2 separate regions of the Homo sapiens genome follow, and region 1 is linked to region 2. The links are contacts of gene promoters, found by promoter capture Hi-C in blood cells and fetal thymus (Javierre and others, 2016). All regions are on one chromosome and are shown on one strand. Each heading gives the region's core, a stretch centred on a gene start or on the middle of the fragment in contact. The rest is flanking DNA. Distances are from core to core; before and after follow the strand shown. Region 1 holds the start of LINC00554 (long intergenic non-protein coding RNA 554). Region 2 holds the start of PCCA-AS1 (PCCA antisense RNA 1).

Region 1 (5,699 bases), core at 1,517-4,016, 490 kb after region 2:
AAAAATAAAAATAAAAAATAAGAAAAGGAACTCCAAAATACTGAGTTGAGTATAGACGCTCTAGTATAGAAACTGCAGACCACTGGACCGTCTCTCACGAACTGGTCAAACTCCTCCTGGGCTTTCCTAGACAGGGGTGGGGACAGACTCACAGGGCTGAGCTGAGGACAGAGCCCCACCAGGCGCTGTCAGGGCGGTTTCCCGACCACACGTCCCTGTCCAAAAACAACCGCACAGCAAATGTGGCTATGCCAAGTCCTTCAGGTATCAGTTAAATCTCCTCCTCTTCTGTATGAATTTGTATTATTTATAAGACACTTGACACACGTTTAAACACTTACATTACTCCTGCGACTCAGGAAATAGAGCTTGTTCAGCTGAGGGAAAAAAAGCATGTAATGAGGGAGTTAACAAGGACTGATATTTTTTTACAACATTCTTTAAAAACTGAAAAACCTCTTTAAACACCAGGAACAGCTTAAATAATTCACTGTAGGCCTAAGGGGCCCCTGTGGACGTTTCCCCCGCGGGTCCCTTTCTGGCCTCGGCCTCCCCGACTGTCATCCGCCAAGGTGGGCCCGGAGGGCGACGGGCTCCAGGCCTCGGTCTCAGCGGTCCTCCGGCTTCCGGGACCCACAGGGGCCCTGGGCTGGGTGGGGGCCAGCCGGACCTGGGGAGGCCGGACCCCGGAAGTGGGTAGAGGCGGGCCGTGCCTTTTGACCCCTGGGTGCGCGGAAAGTCGGTAGCAGGCGGAAGTGCGGCCCTCGAGGCGGTCGCGGCCTGTCGGGGCTTGGAGCGAATGGCTCCAAGGCCGCAGGCTGGGCCTGGGCCGCAGCCGTGGGAAGCCGACGATGCCTGAGGCGCTCTGTCCTCGGCCCACCCTAGGAACTTGTATGACCGCAGGAAAGGATCAGGAGAGGCCGCTGCCCGTCTCCCACCGGCTCTAGGCTCCCTCGGCCGACCGATGTGGGGAAGGGGAAGGGGCCCGCGCCGAGGCTCTAGGGGAGGCTCCTAGGCCGGGTTCTCTGACTTAAGGCCCTCTTGGCTGTGGTTTTGCGGGAGTGAGTTGAGGGAGCTGCATTCACTCAAGTCCCTCACATGCCCGAGGGCCCGGGAATCGTGAAGCCGGGCCTGCGGACCCGGTGGGAGGAAGGAGTGCGAAGCGCGGCCGCCGTGCTCGGCCGGCGCCGGGCTAGGTCGGGCGGTGGGGACCGCGCCGGCATAGGACAACGCGGTGGAGGGAAGCACCTGCCCCCGCCCACCTTGACTCAGGGCCGCCGCGCCCCTCCTGGGCCATCCGCGCGGGGGTCTCAGGATGGCGAAACCCGGGACCTCGCGGCCCTCTAGTGCTCCCCTGCCAGGGTGCGACCTAGGTACCCTTTATCGAGCCCCACTCCCCAAGGCAGAGAGAGTTCGACGTTCCCAAGGAGGGAGTCTCCATGGAGGAATTCGTCCTGCTTCACTTCCAGAGTTGAAAGCCCGTCGGTTCTGCAAAGAGGAGCAGTCGGGCGCGGGCTAGCAAGCAGCTGATGAAAATAATTGTCCTCGCACACACAGCCCTGCGCCCAGGGGCGCGCGCGCGCACACACACACACACACACACACACACACACACACACACAACTTGCCTCCTCTAGCCGCCCAACCTTAATATTCCGGGCATGCAGTTTTCAACAACTTGCCTGACACAATAACAAAGACATTTAAATGCCAGGACGCAGACTTCACTTTTTAACCTGCTGAGAGGAGCTACTTTCAAAGCTTCCCCACCGCGAATAAACTGACAAAAAATATGGGGTGCACTTATAAATTAAACACCTTACCCTCAAAGCAATATACGTTAATCAGGTTTCTAAGGCAATAGCCATCTCTGTCTTTTCCTATTCACCCAAATAATGCCCCCAGAAGGAACCCCTTTACACAAGAGAGAACTGGAAAAAAAATGAATTATACCCATTGCTAGTAAAAAATCATCTTAAATCAATAGAGCACCACTTGAACTTGAGTTTCTATTGTTTCACTGAATCATCAATGTTTTTAATTAAACAGAGCTACCCTTTCTGTTAAAACATTACATAAAAGGGTTAGGTTTCTACTTTTGTTGAGGCAGCTGGCGTTTGTTGGCTGTTGTGTTTGAGCAACAGACTGTTCAATGGAAGCGAGAAATAGCTCAACGCGCTCTTAATAGACCTGTTTCAACAATGTATCTTGAAAAGGAATACATTGTGTTATTGTGTTAGTTTGCTACAAACCTATTAAAAGAAAAATAGCATCCATCAGGTCTAACAAGACGCATTTGTATTATACGTACTTATCTGCTTCAAATACACTTCTTGGCACAATGTCTAGAATTCAACTAGATCATCAGGAGCTGGGCAGAAGAACGCATACCAGTTAGGTAATGATACACGGGCTAAAAATAATAATAAAGGAAGGACTAAGCAGACGGTAATTGCTACTTTTTTGTGTATCATGAGAAATAACAGGCAACCCTACTTCAATTAAAAATATATTGCAAAAGTGTGGACTCCTACGACAAAAACAATTTAAAAAATATTTGTAGCATGGGAATATTGATCCATATCCCATATTTGGAACGAATCTGATACACTTTCGATAGGAATTTGTTTCAGAGAAGGATTCAGGGCAGAAGCGATGCATTTTTAAAGCAGAATTAAAACAGCGCAAAGAGCCCGGCTCTTTAGGGAAATGCGCGAAACAAACAAATCGAAAGCAAGCGTTCCAGCCAAGTGGTTGGGGAGCACCGTTGTCTGGCACTAGGAAAGGAAGTGCTTCTTGAAAGTGTTCTCTTAAAAATGATTTTCCAGACTTATTTTATTGCATTTTAATCACAAAGTGAAACTTAAAGCAAAGAAACAGGACATTCCCGCTACCGAACAGAACCTATCGTCTATTGCAGGAATGACTGCTACTTGGACCACAGACCTTTAGAAAAAACAGAGAGGCAAATGATTAGGCTAATTTAACGCGGAGATCTGCTTAGCAGAAAAGACACCCAAAGTAGCATCTGTCAGAGGAAAACATCTTTTGCTTCCACACAAGGCACTCGATTTGGTTTCCAACCTTGAGTCCTCAACATTCAACTTTCAAGTGCAACAATGTTGGAGGCACAAGAGAATAGTAGATTACCTACAAGTGAACACAATTGTACGGAAAAGAGACTTACATAAGTTACAATGGCACCCTATGTGAGATATCTACTTTAACAAATATGTAGAGCAATATTTTGCCCAATAAAGTCAATCATTTGTTACATTTTTGAATAAGTAAATTATCACATGAAGATTTAGAAAAATGTTACCCTGAAACATTAAACGATAGTTTTGCCATATTACAAAATAGCTATTTTAAACTTTTGTATAAGGCATTTGAAGCCAAATGGCTGATATGACTGTTCTCTTCAGCTGGAACATTTTTTTTCTTCTCAAGAAGGGTGTGTGTGAATGATGTGTGTGCATACTGGAGGTAGTTGAGAAGAATTTGATTAATACATAAGACTTTTCACTAATGTCTCCCCTCTAATCCAAATTTACTTTTTAAATTAATTCACTTGGATTTAAAAACAGAAATGAGATAATAAACCACAAATTACACATTATAAAAATTAGTTTCTCCAATGTATATGATTTTTGGAAGAGTGCATTTTCAAGGTGAGAATTTTTGATGTGTCTGATAATCTGCCAGATATGAGAGGAATGTCACAATAAAATTGGTTTTGCCATGATATGAAATGTTGTTGCTGAAGCTTTATAAAGTCTTTGATTTACATTTAGAACTTTTAGAAATATTTGTGTGTCTGAAGTTGAACTACCTAGAGGGAAATATTCAATCCATTTTAATTTCAAGAGATTGTTCAAATAAACAAAGAATCACCAATGATATCATTTGAAAACCCAGCAAAGGAAGAAGTGTATTTTAGAGGAAGACTGTAATCTGATTCTTTGTTTTGTTCTTGGTCTTTAAAATCCTTGATTCTCCACTTTCGCAAAGAATTTTCAATAGTATATGAAAGCCAAATATTTTTATTGATCTAAAGTTTAAAAAAGTCCACATAGTATGTACTATAATTTGTCTCCCTTTAAACAATAGGAAGAGTATTATTAGATTACTAGATTACTTTCTATATCCCTCCCAAATTGTTCCTAGAAAGAAACTTCTGATCTGTTAATTTATCATCACTAATATCTAAAAATGTTTTAACCAATCAAACCATAAAAATATTTTTACTGCCATTGATCTTAAGCAGCATCTAATTTGAAAGATTTTACAGAGTACATTTTCAAAGCATCAAGCATCTTTACAGTTTCTTGGTCTGCCTTCAGTAGGTAAATGAGTATCATTTCAGATTTCCTTTCAGCTTCTTTTGCCTTTTAATTCACAAGTATAGAAAATAAGAGAGGTTAATGTTTTTAAACATTTCTGCTACACGCGATTATTTCAGTGCCATTCTCTGGTGTTGTGTCTGAAAAACGGGTGGCCAAGCCCGCTGCCCGCAGCGCCAGACATTCAGCCGGATCCACCCCTGGGCACAGTCATCAGGGGAAAGAGATTCAGCTTCCAAACTTGATTAAAAACAACCCAACAATTTCTGCCCCGTTAAAGAACTGTGTGATTGGAGAAGCTGAGTAAATTGCCTCAGAGAGGAGGTGGCTGAGGTCTATGTCTCTTTCAAGTGGGAGCATCGAGAAGCTGAAATATGCAGTTAGAGAGTGTGCTGCAGAAGGGCAGCTTGTCCACCAAAATCTGCAGTTAAAGTCCACTTTACAGGATTTAGGTGCTGAGATGGAGTGATTCTCCCTTATAATTTTTTCATCTTAATTTGAAAGGAAAAAGAAAACACACACACATGCCAAAGACCCACAGAGATGCTTAGGAATTGTTAACTTATTTCTGAGTTACTGAGACCTTTTGTTTTCTATTTAGAAAATATTTCAAAATATACTTCTCCCCTGAAAGTTACAATCTGAAAGATATAATTACAAGAAAAACACTAGGAGGGGAAAAATGAAGTAGGAATGAGGAGTGTGTAGGTTGGTGAATAAAATACATAACTGTCAGCATCTTTTTAATGATACATTGTTGTTGTTGTTTGGTTTGTGATATTTTTTATAGTAAAAACTAGACATCCAAACAGGAATCCAAATATGAATGGAAGTGGGAAGTTTTCTGGTGTGTTTCAACACTAAAATGAACACTATGTCTCTATGTGTCTGTGTGTTCTCCTTCAATTCATTTTTTTTACCCCAGAAAGTGGTGCAATTTGTTAATTTTTTTGTGGGCACAGGAGGAGGAAAATATGATACATTTGGGGATTTTTCAGTAGAGCTGTGTTTAGTTTTAATTTTCCTGTATTTTAAAATAAACACTTTGACCAAAGCATGTTTGATCTTTGCAAGAAGGAAGTATACATTGTGAAGGAATGTGCAGCGGTTGGGTATGAAAATGGGGTTGTGACTCACAGCTGCAGGCAGAAAAAAAAAAGGCGTCGTGGTGTCAGCCAGAGGTGTTCAGTCTAATAATTCAAGCTGTAAACTGCATCCCCTAAAATTACCTACATAATAAATCATTGTGCAAAGAAAAAAAAGTTTGGACTGAAAAGTGTAAGTGAAACAGAATCCTCAGGAGATTTCAATGCTGGGACCTATTGACAATGAAGTGAAATACAGGCTTATTTTGTT
Region 2 (5,475 bases), core at 2,695-5,194:
ATTTCTAAGAACAGCCCTAGGTCCTATCAGTGCATCAAACAGGGAGCAATAAAAACCAAACCAGTCACCACCAGAACTTGCAAAAGAGTTCACAGCAGTGGCTCCTACCGAGGTGCTCACCAGAAGCACTGGGCAGCTAATTCAAAATGGGTGTGAAGCAGCTGCCCAGGTGACTGGCTCCACCCAGACCCTAAATGCTGTTGAGTTAAGATTTATAGTGGAAAAAACAATGGTTTCTTTCAGAGCTCCATTAGTTTCTTCTGAGTTCTAGCTGTCTATTTGATATGTGTTAATATCTGGAAGAAACTGGTATCAATAGTGGACTCTCAAATTCTACATATGCCAAATATATCTACAGGGGGGAAAAAAGAAAAATTCAAACATCTCTAATGCTCTTTCTGTAACTTCAGTCCAGCTTTTATCTCAGAGATCCTGAACGTGTTGTTTAGAAGTCTAGAATGGGAGTGCAGAGGCGACCAGAACACATCAAAAACTTGAGGTGCAGTCTGATGAGTTTCTCTACTCCCTGCTTAGTAAATTTAGAGTTTTCTATTTTTGGAGGACGTAATCCCTATGCACACTGCTTTTAGCATCTAAGCATTTTCCTCAAGATGGGTCAAAGTGTCAAGGGTTTCACGAGAGCCTCTGTCAATTCCTGCAGAACACGGTGGATCTGCTAAAGACTTAAAATAGGGACACAGTCCTTACAGTTTCAGCTTAAGGATCATAAACACAAACGACCACCTGAGACCACAGAGGACCGGATATGAGCTACTTATAGTCATACTGAGCCGGAGAACAAGAATAGCAGGAAAGCGGCCAGTTTTCTTGTAGTGAGGTTCTTTGAAGTAAAGTATTTATTAAACATTATATTATAGTGCATGAAACAAAAATCTTTGAAGGCAGGTTATCCTACTCTGCACAGTGGCCACTGCTAACGAATTACTTCCTTTTCCTCTCAGGTTTTGTTTTTCTATTTGTGAAACTGAAACCCAGATTGTTTTCCTCCATCCATGAAACCAGCTGGCACAAAGCACTCCTTCTGGTAATAATGTCCCATCAATGGAAACAGCATTAAAAACGATTCCAACCCATCACTTCACCATCACACACAAGAGGATGTGCAGATTAGGGAGGTGCTCTCTAAATATTGGTCAGCAACTTCTCTAAAATAGAAAACCAGGCTGTTAAAAATGATAAAATGACTAGAAATGGCAACAATTAAAATGGGGCTTCCATTTTTATTTAAAAGCAAAATTTACCGATTGCATTTCTCACTTCCTAACTCTAGACTGATACGCCTTATTTCAGCTAGCACTTTCTATTTCTCAATAAAGTACCCCAGATATACCAGTAAGAGCCTCATCTTAAAGAAATGTCCAAAAGAAGACCAAGAGGGCGGTATAGTTTATTCTTCTGAACCAATTATTAACTTAAGAGTCTTTGCCTGGGGAAGGAGTACTGAGCAGCAGAACTCCCAATGAGCCAGCACAAACGGTCACATGCTGAAGATGCAATGGAAGAATCCTGGCCCATTGGCCAAAAGGTGTCTCCGGCTAAGTGTGTGCTGAGAGGAGAAAAGGACAGCGCCGGACACATGGCTGGGTCTGTTTCAACGTGGCTGAGAACAGTGGGAAGCTTTTTAAAATCTGGGAATACATCAAAGGGCTAATGCAGATTAAGCCCAGCTCCTTTTTTTTTTTTCCCTGAAAGGCTCACTTTTGTTCCTAATAGAAAGACTTAGATGGTATTTCTTCAGATCATAAAGCAAGTTGTACTTTTAATGATGGAATAAAAATTATAAAAGTAAAACGTGGCTTTTCCTCCCCATTCTTTTTTTCCTTTTTTAAGTGATGAATTCAGGAAAAGACCAGTCTAGGCCAAATTTATCTCTTGTTAACCTTCAGGGATATGGAGTACGCCAAGTATGTTAGTACAAAGTCAAATTTGGATGATGTAGTCATTTTTTGCTAATTCCATTATTAGAAACATTAGATAATATGGTAGTATCTAAGGAATACAGCTTTAAAAATAGTATGCACCTTCACTATCAAGACTGTAAGGCAAAATCAACTTGTGCCCACGACTGAACTTTTGAAATAGAAAATTTTGTTATATCCATGTTAGCCAGGCTGGTCTTGAACTCCTGACCTCAAATGATCCGCCCGCCCCGACCTCCCAAAGTGCTGGGATTACAGGCGTGAGCCACTGCACCCGTGGCATGCACCTGTAATCCCAGCAACTCGGGAGGCTGAGGCAGGAGAATCGCTTGAACCCAGGAGGTGGAGGTTTCAGTGAGCTGAGACTGCACCATTGCATTTCAGCTTGGGGAACGAGCGAACGCTCTCTCAAAACAAACAAACAAAAAACCAAAACAAAAAACCTTGTTATGTCAATAAGAGTATTTCTAAGTGGGTTAGCAGCTCCCTGACAGGCTACCTCTCCAGCCTTCCCAGGCCCACCCATCCTTGGTTCCCTCTCTAGCCTCACAAGACAGCGCTCTTCTCATCACACTCAGGCATTTCACTGGAGCCCCTGATCTCGCTTTGCCCTCCTCTCTTGGAGCCTGCCTCATCAACTGTCCTCTCTTCCCTCTCTATTGGCCCCTTCTCTTCATCCTGAAAGTCAACCTGAGTCATTCCAATCAACAAATTCTCTCTCGACTCTGCATCCCTCCTGGCTACTGCCTTCTGACCTGACCCATGTTCTCCACACAGTCCTCTGCTCTAGCTGCTGCAACCACACTTGCACTCACGACCAAACCAGCCCTACGTGGCTATCGCCACCACTGTTCTTCCTAACTGACAAGCTGTCTCAGGTACCCACAGGTTAGATATTTCAGGGGAAATGACTGTTACAGAAATGTTCATGTTAGAATGAAGAAACAGATCAATACACATCAATCATATTAAAAAGGTGCTTCTAAGACAAAGCATATATTATTTTTATTATTCATATTCAATATTTTAGGAATTAAAGCAACGATGTTTCTGCAAATTTATGGTTTTGAATTGATGGTACGTTGTAATAATGCATAGATAGGGTCTGCCTGAGCTTTCACCCCAGGAACTGTAAACTTTATATTACAGTAGTCCCCCCTTATCCAAGGTTTTAGCTTTCCAAGGTTTCATTTACCTGTGGTCAACCATGGTCCAGAAACATTATATGGAAAATTCCAGAAATAAACAATGTATAAGTTTTAAATTGTGAGTCATTCTGAGTAGTGTGAGGAGATCTTGTGCTGTCCTGCTCCATCCTGCCTGGGTCATAAACCCTCTCTCTCGGGGTCCAGCATCTCCACGCTGTAGACACCCCCACCACCAACCAGTCACTTAGTGGCCATCTCAGTTACCAGATCTACTGTCAGGGGGTCTCAGTGCTTAGGTTCCTTTTTTATTTTTGAGACAGAGGCTGGCTCTGTCGCCCAGGCTGGAGTGCAGTGGCATGATCTTGGCTCGCTGTAACCTCCACCTCCTGGGCTTAAGCCATGCTCCCACCTCAGCCTGCCGAGTAGCTGGGACTACAGGTATGTGCCACCGTGACCGGTGAATTTTTGTGTTTTTTGTAGAGGCAGAGTTTTGCCATGTTGCCCAGGCTAGTCTCAAACTCCCGAGCTCAAGTGATCCACCTGCCTTGGACTCCCAAAATGCTGGGATTACAGGTGTGAGCCACTGTGCCTGGCAGGAACTATTATTTGACTTCACAATGGCCTCAAAGTTCCAAGAGTATGATGCTGGCAATCTGGATATGCCAAAAACCAGCCATGAAGTCCTTCCTTTAGTTAAAAGGTGAAAGTTCTCAAGAAAAAAAAAAGTATGCTGAGATTGCTAAGATCTACAGTAAGAATCAATCTTCTATCCATGAAATTGTGAAAAAGGACAAAGAAATTTGTGCTAGTTTTGCTGCTGTACCTAAAACTACAAAAGTTACAGCCACAGTGTGGGCTAAGTGCCGAGCTGAAATGGAAAAGGCATTAAAGGCAAGCGTATACAGGGTTCGGTCCCATCCGCAGTCTTAGGCATCCCCTGGGGATTTTGACATGGATCCCCCGTGGAGAAGGGGGGCTACTGTACAGTACACTTCCCTTCAGCAAGCCGCATATTCAAGTTCTCTATTTCAGATTCCCCTTCGTGACTGTCATGCAGGAAGCAAAGAAAACCCATTGTGTCCAAGGAAATTTTTACTTTCTCTAGGGATTCAGAAACCTGACTTTCTGATACTCAGAAACTCAGTGCGCATGGGTGAGAAGGCTCGGTAGGGAAGAGGTGCTTTGTAGCTCAGGATCTGCTGGAGCTGAGGGCGTTTTTTGGTTTAATCTAGTTTCACTGTGTGTTTCATGGAGAGGTTCCTCTAGGAACAAAAGGTTCTATGGAAGTCACGTCCTTTATCCCTCTTAGCCATCCCTGTGTCTGCCTTAGCCAACCTCCCATTTGTAAAAAGAAAGCAGAGACCAGGCTATGGCTGAATAGTTTCAGACAGCCCCTATACCACTGTCAGCCTTTGCAAAGTGTAATGCTTTAATTACAAGGGTCACACAAGGTCTTAAGACACAGGAGTCCCTGTGTCTGAACGTAATCACTGTGTATGCGTCTCAGCCTAATGAGGAGGTGACTATCATGAAGGTCTGGTGGTGAAGATCTTGCAAGAAGGTGCCTTGTTTGAGATCTTTCAAGGAAACACAGTACTCAATAAATGTGGGTGAGTAGAAATTACAATTTAGTTGGGTTAATTTTTGGTAGTAATATGGAGCTTTGCAAAGAGAAAGGCATTTGCTGAAGACACTGGTAAAATATGTGCTGAAGCTCTGCCTCATCTAGTCTGGTTCAAAAGTCAAATATCAAAGAGTCAAGAGACCCTCCTATTCAGAAGAAAGCCCTGACTTGTTAATTTATTAGAAGCAAGAGTAAATGCTCCATAGGTTTTTCATTAAATAAAATTAGATCTAGTCCCAGGGCTTTTCTGTAATGGGTGCTCCTGAGTCAGGAATCAAGACCCATGAAGTAAGAAAAGAACAGGTAGGCAAGGGGGTACCTTCTCCTCTAACAAAAGTGGCCTATCAGATGGTCAGGGAGTCTCTATCAGTGGAGCCAAACCAGCTCCACTGACACAGTTAAAGACCCTTGCCATCAAGTGCAAAGGGAAGCAGTAGGACTTAGAGTAGGCCATTTCCTACTAAAAATGGAATCATTTTTCAGTTCGGTGTACAGTTGAGCCTTGAGCAACATGGATTTGAACTGCATGGGGCCACTTAAATGTGCATTTTCTTATGACTCCGCTGCTCTTGAGACAGCAAGATCAAGCCCCCTCCTCCTCAGCCAACTCAACGTGAAGACAATGAAGATCAAGATCTTTAAGATGATCCACTTCCACTTAATGAATAATAAATATATTTTGTCGTTATGATTTTCCTAACACTTTCTCTAGCTTACTTTATTGCAGGAATACAGTATATAATCATGTAACATACCAAATACG

What was found. Contacts are between HindIII fragments. The CHiCAGO score rates a contact against its expected background, and 5 or more counts as called.
Region 1: a fragment that was not itself captured here is called in contact with the fragment with the promoter of PCCA-AS1 in region 2 in 1 of 17 cell types (M0 macrophages); the score reaches 5.9 in M0 macrophages.

The regions. Positions count from the first base shown.
Region 1 is chr13:99,992,952-99,998,650 of GRCh38, reverse strand. It overlaps LINC00554 (long intergenic non-protein coding RNA 554), which reads left to right and starts at 742. Exons shown (of 1, transcript NR_047483.1): 1 at 742-3,752. RefSeq lists an enhancer at 186-1,131. The HindIII fragment of the contact is 2,005 bases long and covers 1,764-3,768 here.
Region 2 is chr13:100,479,484-100,484,958 of GRCh38, reverse strand. PCCA-AS1 (PCCA antisense RNA 1) reads left to right here and starts at 3,944. Exons shown (of 5, transcript NR_047686.1): 1 at 3,944-3,979. The region is part of intron 21 of PCCA (propionyl-CoA carboxylase subunit alpha); the gene reads right to left. It overlaps LOC107984574 (a long non-coding RNA gene), which reads left to right and starts at 3,752. Exons shown (of 3, transcript XR_007063850.1): 1 at 3,752-3,839; 2 at 4,529-4,698; 3 at 5,196-5,412. The HindIII fragment of the contact is 6,979 bases long and covers 1,641-5,475 here.